4 separate regions of the Homo sapiens genome follow, and all the other regions are linked to region 2. The links are contacts of gene promoters, found by promoter capture Hi-C in blood cells and fetal thymus (Javierre and others, 2016). All regions are on one chromosome and are shown on one strand. The core of a region is centred on a gene start or on the middle of the fragment in contact, and the rest is flanking DNA. Distances in the headings are between cores, read along the strand shown. Region 1 overlaps IL21R (interleukin 21 receptor). Region 2 holds the start of IL4R (interleukin 4 receptor). Region 3 has its middle 5.3 kb from the start of IL21R. Region 4 overlaps IL21R (interleukin 21 receptor).

Region 1 (2,700 bases), core at 118-2,617, 100 kb after region 2:
TCCAGTTTTTTGGTATTATGAATAATGTTGCTGTGAATATTTGTCTACAATGGTTTGTACATTTCTTTCTGGACATATATCCGCAATTGTTTTCTTTCCTTTTTCTTTCTTTTTTCTTTTCTTTTTTTTTTTTTTTTGAGACAGGGTCACACTCTGTCACCCAGGCTGGACTGCAATGGTGTGAAAACAGCTCACTGTAGCCTCAAACTCTTGGGCTCATGTGATCCTCCCACCTTAGCCTCCTGAGTAGCTGGGGCCACAGGTACATACCACCATGCCCAGAAAATGTTTTCATTTTAATTTTTGTAGAGATGAGGTCTTGCCATGTTACCCAGGCTAGTCTCAAACTCCTGGGCTCAAGCAACCCTCCCGCCTTGGCCTCCCAGTATGCTGGGATTACAGGCATGAGCTACTGCATCTGGTCAATTCTTTTCACTATATAACTAGGTGTGAAATTTCTTGGTCATATGGAAACAGTCATACATTGCTTAATGACGAGGATACATTCTGAGAAATGTGTCATTAGGTAATTTTGTCATTGTGTGAACGTCATAGAGTGCACTTACACAAACCTAGGTGGTATAGCCTACTACACACCTAGGCTGTATCTTACAGCCTATAATTGGCTACAAACCTGCACAGCATGATACGGTACTGAATACTGTAGGCAACTGTAACACAATTGTAAGTATTTGTGTATCTAAACATAGAAAAGGTACAGTGAAAACATAATATAAAATATGAAAAAACGGCACACCTGTGTAGGGCACTTACCATGAATGCAGTTTGCAGGATTCGAAGTTGCTCTGGGTGTCAGTGATTAAGTGCTGAGGGAATGTGAAGGCCCAGGACATTGCTGTACACTCCTGTAAACTTTATCAACACTGAACTCTTAGGCTACTCTAAATTTATTTGAATTTTTAAAATAATAAATTAACTTTGGCTTACTGTAACATTTTTCCTATTTTATTTATTTTATTTTATTTTATTTTATTTTATTTTATTTTATTTTATTTTATTTTATTTATGTTATTTTATTTTATTTAAGACGGAGGTTCGCTCTATCGCCCAGGCTGGAGTGCAGTGGCGTGATCTCGGCTCACTGCAAGCTCCGCCTCCCGGGTTCACGCCATTCTCCTGCCTCAGCCTCCCAAGTAGCTGGGACTACAGGCGCCTGCCACTGCGCCCGGCTAATTTTTTGTATTTTTAGTAGAGATGGGGTTTCACGTGCTAACCAGGATGGTCTCGATCTCCTGACCTTGTGATCTGCCCGTCTCGCCCTTCCAAAGCGCTGGGATTACAGGCGTAAGCTACCGCGCCCGGCCCTATTTTATTTCATTTTTTGAGACAGAGTCTCACTCTATCACCCAGGCTGGAGTGCAGTGTCGCGATCTCAGCTCACTGCAACCTCCGCCTCCCAGGTTCAGGCAATTCTCCTGTCTCAGCCTCCAGAGTAGCTGGGACTACAGGTGCGCGCCACCACGCTCGGCTAATTTTTTTGGTATTTTTAGTAGAGACGGGGTTTCACCATGTTAGCCAGGATAGTCTTGATCACCTGACCTCGTGATCTGCCCGCCTTGGCCTCCCAAAGTGCTGGGATTACAGGCATGAGCCGCTGCGCCCCGCCAACATTTTTTCTTTATAAACATTTTAACTTTTTAAAACTTTTTGAATAACACTTTTGTAATAACAGTTATCTTATTGTAATAACACTTAAGTGTTTTCGTGCACTCTTGTACTAACACTTAAGACACAAACACATTGTACAGCTATACAAAATATTTTTCTTTATATTCTTATTCTAAAAGCCTTTTTATATATTATATTTTAAAATTTTTTATTTTTTATTTTTTTACTTAAAAAAATTTTTTTTTGTTAAAACCTAAGACACGCGGGGCATGGTGGCTCATGCCCGTAATCCCGGCACTTTGGGAGGCCAAGGAGGGCGGATCGCCTGCAATCAGGAATTCGAGACCAGCCTGGCCAACATGGTGAAAGCCCCATCTCTACTAAAAATACAAAATTGGCCAAGCATGGTGGCGGGCGCCTGTAATCCCAGCTACTTGGGAGGCTGAGACAGGAGAATCACTTGAACCCGGGAAAACCAACACCACGCCATTGCACTCCAGCCTAGGCAACAAGAGCAAAACTCCATCTCAAAAAAACCCAGAAAACAAAAAACAAAAAATCTAAGACACAGGCAGACACATTAGCCTAGGCCTACACAGGGTCAAGATCACCAATATGACTGTCTTCCACCTCCACATTTTGTCCCACTGGAAGGTCTTCAGTGGCAAAAACACACATGGAGCTGGCATCTCCTATGATAATGATGCCTTCTTCCGGAATCCATCCTGAAGGACCTGCCTGAGGCTGTTTTACAAGTTAACATTTTTTGTTTGTTTTTAAGAGTCTTGCTCTGTCACCCAGGCTGGAGTGCAGTGGCACAATCTTGGCTCACTGCAGCCTCCACCTCCTGGGTTCATGCGATTCTTGTGCCTCAGTCTCACGAATAGCTGGAATTACAAGCACACACCACCGTGCCTGGCTAATTTTTGTATTTTTAGTAGAGATGGGGTTTCACCATGTTGGCCAGGCTGGTTTCCAACTCCTGACCTCAAGTGATCTGCCTGCCTCAGCCTCCCAAAGTGCTGGGATTACAGGCGTAAGCCACTGTGCCCCTCCAACATTTTTTTTTAA
Region 2 (2,700 bases), core at 36-2,535:
TTCTCAGCACTGCCCAGTGTGAGTCCAAATATCTCCCACCTCCCCTGTCTCCGCTCTTTCCTCACTCAGGGCTCCACAGCCATGCCGGCCTTCAGCAATTCCTCCTGCAGGCTGAGCTGGTTCCCACAGGGCCTTTGCACTAGCTCTTCCCTCTCCCTACACAAGTCTTCCCCCATAGGCTCTTCAGAGTCTCAGCTCAAATGGCCTCTACTCAAAAAGCCTCTTCCAGACCACCTGCCCCACTGGTCTAAGAGGTCCCTACTTTCTTCTTGGGCCCTCCTGACCTGAAATACTTTGTTGAGTGTTTTCCCCCCAGTCATCTGGCTGCATCCGGGTTCTTATGGTGTCCAGACGTTAATGGTCTATGGGGCCTGTGTTCGAATCCCAGCTCCACCCCTGCTCCTGCTTACCTGCAGAGTGATTCTGAGTTTCTTTCTTTTCTTTTTTAAAATTTTATAAATGTCAATTTTTGTAGATAGGGGTCTCGCTAACAGGGTTGCCCAGGCTGGTCTCGAACTATGGGGTTCAAGTGATCCTCCCGCCTCAGCTTCCCAAAGTGCTGGGATTACAGGCATGAGCCACTTTGCCCAACCCATTTTGAATTTCTTAAGGACTCTGTGCCTCAGTTTCCTGATTTGTAAAACCGGTGATAGTATCACTCCCTTATAGGGTAGTTGCCAGGATTGAACGAGTTAACATTTGCAGTGCCCGACAGATTGTACTAGTTACTGATTGAAGGGCTGTTTTACTATCCAAATGTGGCTGGAGTAGGAGTTGGGTAAACATTTATTGAAGAATGTGCAACCACTCTCACTTGGAAGCCGGGCTGTTAGGAAGGGGAGGAGGATTCCAGTCGCCCAGCCCTCCCCCACCAAACGCAACTGCCCCGGCGCAAAAGAGGCCGCGGAGGCCAGGCAGGAGCAGGTCCTGGAGGCCTGGTCGGCGTGGGCGTTTTATTCCGAGACCAAGGGGATCCACTGCAGAGTTCTCCGCTGGGCGTGACCTCGGGCTACGGCGTGGGAGGAAGCGCGCGGCAAGACACCCAGCGAGGTGCTGGGGTCGCCCCCAGGAGAGGACGGCGGCTCGGACTGTCCGGCGGCGGCGGCGGGGACAGCGACAGGGGCGCGAGGTGGCCGGGACCCGGGCCGGGCGCGCCGGGCGGGGCGGCGCATGCAAATCTGCCGGGCGCCGGGGCGGGGAGCAGGAAGCCGGGGCGGGCTGGGTCTCCGCGCCCAGGAAAGCCCCGCGCGGCGCGGGCCAGGGAAGGGCCACCCAGGGGTCCCCCACTTCCCGCTTGGGCGCCCGGACGGCGAATGGAGCAGGGGCGCGCAGGTAGGATCCGGGGCCCGCGCGCGGATCGGGTTGCGAAGGTATCGCCCGGGCACGCCGGCTGAGGGCGTTCGGGAAGGGCTCGGCCGCCGGCGGGGACCACGGGGACCACCCCGACTCCGAGCGGGGCCCGAGCCCGCGACTCTCGGTGCGCGCGGAGCAGCGCCCGGTTCCGTCCTTGCCGCCGAACGGCAGCGGAGGCGCGAGGCCCGGGGTACGTGGACACCCAGCGCTCCCCAAAGCCGGTGCTGGCAGTGAGACCTCCGCCGGGACGGCCTGCGGGGGTGGGGGGCTTGGGGTTAGGCTGTCGGAGGCCACGCAGCCCCTCTTCTCCGGGCAGTGGCGCCCAGCCCTGCGCTCAGGAAGTCAGTGAGGACTTCGGAGAGAGAAAGGGTGGGGAAAGTTCTGAGAACTGTAAATTTGAGTAGTAGGTCAGTGAATCGGGGCGGTCTCCGCCTCCGAATATCAGATGGACCCAATAATCGCGATCATTGACTGGGACTTGTTTTACTGAAAGGATGCCAAGTGAAACCTCCCACTAACTTCTCTGTGGCCGGTGCTGTGCGTCATGGACATTGTACAGATGAGGTCACCAAGACCCCAGCCGCTTTAGTAACTTGCCCTAAGGTGCCGCCCACTTGGGAGTCCGTGGGGCAGCAGGACTAGAGCCCAGGCAATCCCACGCCAGAGCCAGCTGCTCTCCATCTCTCAATCACGTTTGAGGAGCCCCCACAATAACCAGAATCTCCGGGAGATTTGCTTAAAATGCAGATTCCCAGGTCCTTGCCCTGAGATTCAGATTCAGTAAACCCAGGAATCTGATCTTTATTTTATTTTTAAAAATTTATTTTATAAAGATGGTGTCTCACTATGTTGTCCAGGCTGGCCTCAAGTGATCCTCCCACCTCGGCCTCCCAAAATGCTGGGATGACAGGTGTGAGCCACTGAGCCCTGATTTTTTTTTTAAACAAAATCTGGATTTCTTAGACTTAAGCAAGATAGGGGACCACTAGTTTGTCTGCTTCTGGGGTTCAAGGAATGCCCCCAGGCCAGCGCTAACCCTGCTCCAGTTCTAGTCTCTCCCCTTCCCCAGCCCTCTGGGAGGCATGACCCACTGCACTTCCCTGCCCCCAGTAGCCTATGAGGAGCCCAAGGCATTTGCTGGGACCTCAGTGCCTTTATCAAAATCCCAAAGTCCAATGGGGAAACAGGCTCAGGTGTAGGTTTGGCCAGGGTGTCCTGCACATTAGGGCATTCCAGGGTCCTGCAGGGGTTTCTTAGAACTCGGCTAGCCCAGCCCATGAATGGGAGGTGACCTGCTAAGCCACTCATTCACTCACTAGCACTCATTCAGCTCCTGCGAGGCCCTGG
Region 3 (2,700 bases), core at 14-2,513, 83 kb after region 2:
CAACATAAGAAAATTAATCAATACAATACATAACATTAATAGAATAAGAAAACCCACACGATCATCCAAATTGATGCAGAAAAGCATTTGACAAAATTTAACACCCTTTCATGATAAAAACACTCAGTAAAGTAGGAATAAGAGAGAACTCCCTCAACATGATAAAGACCATATATGAAAAACCTGGCTGGGCACAGTGGCTCATGCCTGTAATACCAGCACTTTGGGAGGCCGAGACAGGCAGATCACCTGAGATCAGGAGTTCGAGACCAGCCTGGCCAACATGGTGAAATGCTGTCTCTACTAAAAATACAAAAATTAGTTGGATGTGGTGGCACACACCTGTAATCCCAGCTACTTGGGAGGCTGAGGCAGGAGAATCACTTGAACCCATGAGGTTGCAATGAGCTAAGATCATGCCACTGCACTCCAACCTGCACCAGAGTGAGACTCCATCTCAAATAAAAAAGAGAGAGACAGAGAAAGAAGGAAAGAGAGAAAGAAAGAAAGAGAAATAAAGAAAGAAAAACCCGCAGCTAACAAGCTAACATCACACTAAATCAGTGAAAGACTGAAAACTTTTCCACCAAGATCAGGAAAGAGGATGCCCACTTTCACCACTGGTATTCAACATTGCACTGAAAGTTTTAACCAGAACAATTCAGCAAGAAAAAGAAATAAAAGGCATTCAAATGGGAAAAGGAAAGAGTAAAAACTACTGTTATTCGCAGATGACATGATCATATATATGGAAAATTCTAAAGAACGCACAAAGAAATTATTAGAGCTAATAAATTCAGCCAAGTGACAGGGTATAAGATCAACATACAAAAATAAATTGTGTTTGTATATACTAGCAATAAACAACCCCAAAAGGAAATTAAATAAATTCTATTTATAATAGCATCAAAAATAATAAAATACTTAAGAATAAATTTAACCAAGGAGGTGCAAGATTTGTACACTGAACACTATAAAATATTGCTGAAAAAATTAGAAAAGACCTAAATAAAGTTTTTTAAATTCTATGTTAATGTAATGGAAGATTTAACATTGCACTCCTCAAAGTAATTTATAGATTTAATGCAATTCCTATAAAAGTCCCAATGGCCTTTTTTAAAAAATGGAAAAACTGATCCTAAAAATCATGTGAAATTTCAAGGGACCCAGAAAAGCCAAAACAATAAAGTTGGAGGACTCAAATTCCCATTTTTAAAATTTACTGCAGAGCCAAGATTGTGCCATTGCATTCCAGCCTGGGCAACAAGAGCGAAACTCTGTCTCAAAACAACACAAAAACAAAAACAAAACAAAACAAAACTTACTGCAGAGCTACAGTAATCAAAACAGTGTGATAATCCTGGCACAAGGCTAGACATATAGATCAATGGAATTGAACTTAGAGTTCAGAAATAAACCCATGAATCTATAGTCAATTTTTTTTCATTTTTTTTGCATTAAAGCACACTATCAACAAAGTGAAAAGACAGCCACAGAATGGGAAAAATATTTGTAATTCATATATCTGATAAAGGTGAGTTTCCAGAATATACAAAGAACTCTTAAAATTCAACAACAAATGATGAACAATCAAATTTAAAAATTGGCAAGGAGCTGGGCACGGTGGCTTATGCCTGTAATCCCAGCACTTTGGGAGACTGAGGTGGGCGGATCACCTGAGGTTAAGGGTTCGAGACCAGCCTGGTCAACATGGTGAAAACCCGTCTCTACTAAAAACACAAAAATTAGCTGGATATGGTGGCACACGTTTGTAAGCCCAGCTACTCGGGAGGCCGAGGCACAAGAATCGCTTGAACCCAGGAGGTAGAGGTTTCAGTGAGCCAAGATCACACCACTGCACTCCAGTGTGGGAGACAGATCAAGACTCTGTCTAAAAAAAAAATAAAATAAATAAAATTTGGCAAGGGACTTCAATAGACATTACTCCAAACAAGATATGCAAATGACTACCAAGCACATGAAAAGATGCTTACCATCATTAGCCATTAGGGAAATGCAAATCAAAACCACAATGAGATACCACTTCACATCCGCTAGGATGGCTATAATAAAAACCAACAGAAAATACATATTGTCTGCTGGGTGCGGTGGCTCACGCCTGTAATCCCAGCACTTTGGGAGGCCGAGGCGGGCGCATCACGAGGTCAGGAGATCGAGACCATCCTGGCTAACACGGTGAAACCCCGTCTCTACAAAAGAAAATACAAAAAATTAGCCAGGCGTGGTGGCAGGCACCTGTAGTCCCAGCTACTCGGGAAGCTGAGGCAGGAGAATGGCGTGAACCCGGGAGGCGGAGCTTGCAGTGAGCCGAGATCGCGCCACTGCACTCCAGCCTGGGCGACAGACCGAGACTCCATCTCAAAAAAAAAAAAAAAAAGAAAAAAAAAAAAAAGAAAATACATATTGTCAAGGACGTAGAGAAATGGGAACCTTCAGACATTGCTGGTGGGAATATAATACAGGGCAGCTGCTGTGAAAAACAGTTTGTCAGTTTCTTAATAAGTTAAACTTATTTAAAAGTTAATAAGTTAAACTACCTTTAACTCAACAAGTCTCCTTCTGGGTATATATCCAAAAGATTTGAAAATGCATGTCTACACAAAGACTCGCATGCAAGTGTTCATAGCATGCTTGTTTGTAGTAAAGGAAAAAGTGGACATACTCCAAATGTCCATCATC
Region 4 (2,700 bases), core at 137-2,636, 120 kb after region 2:
AGCACTTCCTGAATCTCCGAGAGTGGGTGTCCTGTGGATCCAACTTCTGTAGAGCCGAGTCCTCTTCCTTGTCAGGGTTTTGGGACATTTTCAGCATAGCTGTCCTTGACTCTATGAGGTCCTGACCCTCTTGGGGTGTGTGCGTGTGCTCTGGCTGGGTTCCTACCACATCTGGGGCATTTAGGATATTGCCATTCTGAGTGGGAGCTTGGCCAGGAGGGACACAGACCTGGTGGCCGGGCGCAGGGCTCTGGAGGAGGGTGCTGAGCTGGGGACCAGCTAGTTTTATATTATTTGCCATCACATGCATCCTGTCTTCATAGCCAGCCTTGAAACATTGGTGCTCAAACAAGGAATTTCCAGGTGGTGAGGCCCCCTGGGTGCCAGGCCTACATCTAAGCAGCTCCTGAGTCCTCATATTTGTCCCGGCCTGGGGACCCCTGCACCCATTCTTCCTCCAGCCCTCGAGGGGATGGAGAGGAAGCTCTGCAGTCCCAAGCCACCCCCCACCAAGGCCTCTCTCCCCACTGACCCTCCAGGCTGGGGCTGCCCCGACCTCGTCTGCTACACCGATTACCTCCAGACGGTCATCTGCATCCTGGAAATGTGGAACCTCCACCCCAGCACGCTCACCCTTACCTGGTAAGTAGCCGGGCCTCACCAGTCCCCGGGGATGCAATTCAGGGTGCCTGCTCAGTGATTCCCCCAGGAGGACACTGTGCACTGAGGACCACTGTGTCCGCCTTTCAGACAACCACTCAGGGCTCACAGGACTTGAAAAGTCAGGAGCCCGCAGGGTTGGTCTATCCACCAGCTTCAAAGGCCACTCTCTCACCCACACAGGTCGGCCATGGTTTTGAGACCCCGGGATGGCTGGTTTCCCGCATGATTTTTCAAGCACTTAGGTACCAGGCCCCCAACTACACGCTTCCCATGAATGGTCACCCCCAACCCTCACAATGATTACTCCCATTTTACAGATGAGGACATTGAGGTTCAGAGAGGTTAAGCAACTTGCCTAAGGTCACACAGCCAGTGAATGCTGGAGCTGGGATTCAAATTCAGACCGCCCAACTCCAAAGTCCATGGGTCCCTTTTAGACCCTATGCAGCTCAGGATAAAGAAGAGCTTCTGTTATCCATCAGCTCATTCATTCATTCAAAACCATTTATAGGCCAGGTGCAGTGGCTCATGTTTCTAACCCCAGCACTTTGGGAGGCCAAGGAAGGAGGATCACTTGAGCCCAGGAGTTTGAGACCAGCCTGGGCAACATCACAAAACCCTGTCTCTACAAAAAATAAATCAGTCGGGCGTGGTGGCACAATCCTGTAATCCCAGCTACTTGAGAGTCTAAGGCAGGGGGACCAAGCTCAGGAGGTCGAGGCTGCAGTGAGCTATGATCACGCCACTGCACTCCAGCCTGGGCAAAAAAGCAAGATCCCAACTCAAAAACAAAACAAAACAAAACAAAACATGTATTAAGTTCCTGCCAGACACTGTTGCAGGCACTGGGGATTCAGCAGAGCAAGACTGACCAGGCCCCAGATGCCTTGGAACTGACGTACCACGGTGGGGCGGAGGCTGGGGGAGACAGACACACAAAACAACCAACAAGGTGCTTTCTCTTTTTTATTTTATTTTATTTTATTTTATTTTATTTTTTTGAGACAGGGTCTTGCTCTGTTGCCCAGGCTGGAGTGCAGTGGTGGGATCAGAACTCACTGTAGCCTTGACCTCCTGGGCTCAAGCAATCCCTCCACCTAAGCCTCCTGAGTAGCTGGGACTACAGGCATGCATCACCATACCTGGATAATTTTTGTAGTTTTTGTAAAGACAGGGTTTTGCCATGTTACCCAGGCTGGATTCAAACTCCTGGGCTCAAGCAATCTGCCCACCTCAGCCTCCCAAAGTGCTGGGATTACAGGTGTGAGCCACCATGCCAGGCCCAAACAGGACACTTTCTTTCTTTCTTTTTTTTGGAGACGGAGTCTCACTCTGTTGCCCAGGCTGGAGTGCGGTGGCATGATCTCGGCTCACTGCAACCTCCACCTCCTGGGTTCAAGCAATTCTCCTGCCTCAACCTCCCAAGTATCTGGGATTGCATCCAGGTGTGCACCACCATGCCTGGCTAATTTTTGTATTTTAAGTAGAGACAGGGTTTTGTCATGTTAGCCCACCTGGTCTCGAACTCCTGGCCTCAAGTGATCCGCCCACTGTACCCGCCTTTCAGACAACCACTCAGGGCTCACAGGACTTGAAAAGTCAGGAGCCCGCAGGGTTGGTCTATCCACCAGCTTCAAAGACCACTCTCTCGCCCACACAGGTCGCCCATGGTTTTGAGACCCCGGGATGGCCGGTCTGCCGCATGGCCAGCCTCCCAAAGTGTTGGGATTACAGGCATAAGCCACCGTGTTCTGCCCCAAACAGGATACTTTCTAATAATACTGGGTGCTATATCAAGGACAGAACACTGGACCTCAGGTAAAGGGACCACAACTGCTAGTGAGAAGGAGGAAGCCAGGGAGCTGGGCAGAGGGCACTGCCAGTGCAAAGGCCCTGTGGGAGAAGAGCTGGTGCGTTTGAGGAATAGGGAGGAGGTCAGTGTGGCTGGAGTGGAGTGAGGCAGGGTGAGGGGGAATAAGGAGCAAGTTCAGGCTGGGAGGCTTGGAGAGCATTTATTCAGCAGGAACTTGTATTCCA

The links. Contacts are between HindIII fragments. The CHiCAGO score rates a contact against its expected background, and 5 or more counts as called.
Region 1: a fragment that was not itself captured here is called in contact with the fragment with the promoter of IL4R in region 2 in 4 of 17 cell types (monocytes, non-activated CD4 T cells, total B cells and 1 more); the score reaches 6.7 in monocytes.
Region 3: a fragment that was not itself captured here is called in contact with the fragment with the promoter of IL4R in region 2 in 1 of 17 cell types (monocytes); the score reaches 5.5 in monocytes.
Region 4: a contact is called between a fragment that was not itself captured here and the fragment with the promoter of IL4R in region 2, in 5 of 17 cell types (total B cells, activated CD4 T cells, non-activated CD4 T cells and 2 more). The highest score is 6.8, in total B cells.

Annotation. Positions count from the first base shown.
Region 1 is chr16:27,417,043-27,419,742 of GRCh38, forward strand. The region is part of intron 1 of IL21R (interleukin 21 receptor); the gene reads left to right. Among named protein-coding and RNA genes, the nearest start is that of IL21R, 16 kb to the left of the region's middle. The HindIII fragment of the contact is 5,619 bases long and covers 1-2,700 here.
Region 2 is chr16:27,312,689-27,315,388 of GRCh38, forward strand. IL4R (interleukin 4 receptor) reads left to right here and starts at 1,286. Exons shown (of 11, transcript NM_000418.4): 1 at 1,286-1,332. RefSeq lists an enhancer at 499-1,229 and silencers at 1,007-1,306, 1,327-1,536, 1,977-2,026. The HindIII fragment of the contact is 16,225 bases long and covers 1-2,700 here.
Region 3 is chr16:27,395,545-27,398,244 of GRCh38, forward strand. No RefSeq gene overlaps it. Among named protein-coding and RNA genes, the nearest start is that of IL21R, 5.3 kb to the right of the region's middle. The HindIII fragment of the contact is 8,609 bases long and covers 1-2,700 here.
Region 4 is chr16:27,433,808-27,436,507 of GRCh38, forward strand. It overlaps IL21R (interleukin 21 receptor), which reads left to right. Exons shown (of 9, transcript NM_181078.3): 3 at 540-642. Among named protein-coding and RNA genes, the nearest start is that of IL21R-AS1, 18 kb to the right of the region's middle. The HindIII fragment of the contact is 7,943 bases long and covers 1-2,700 here.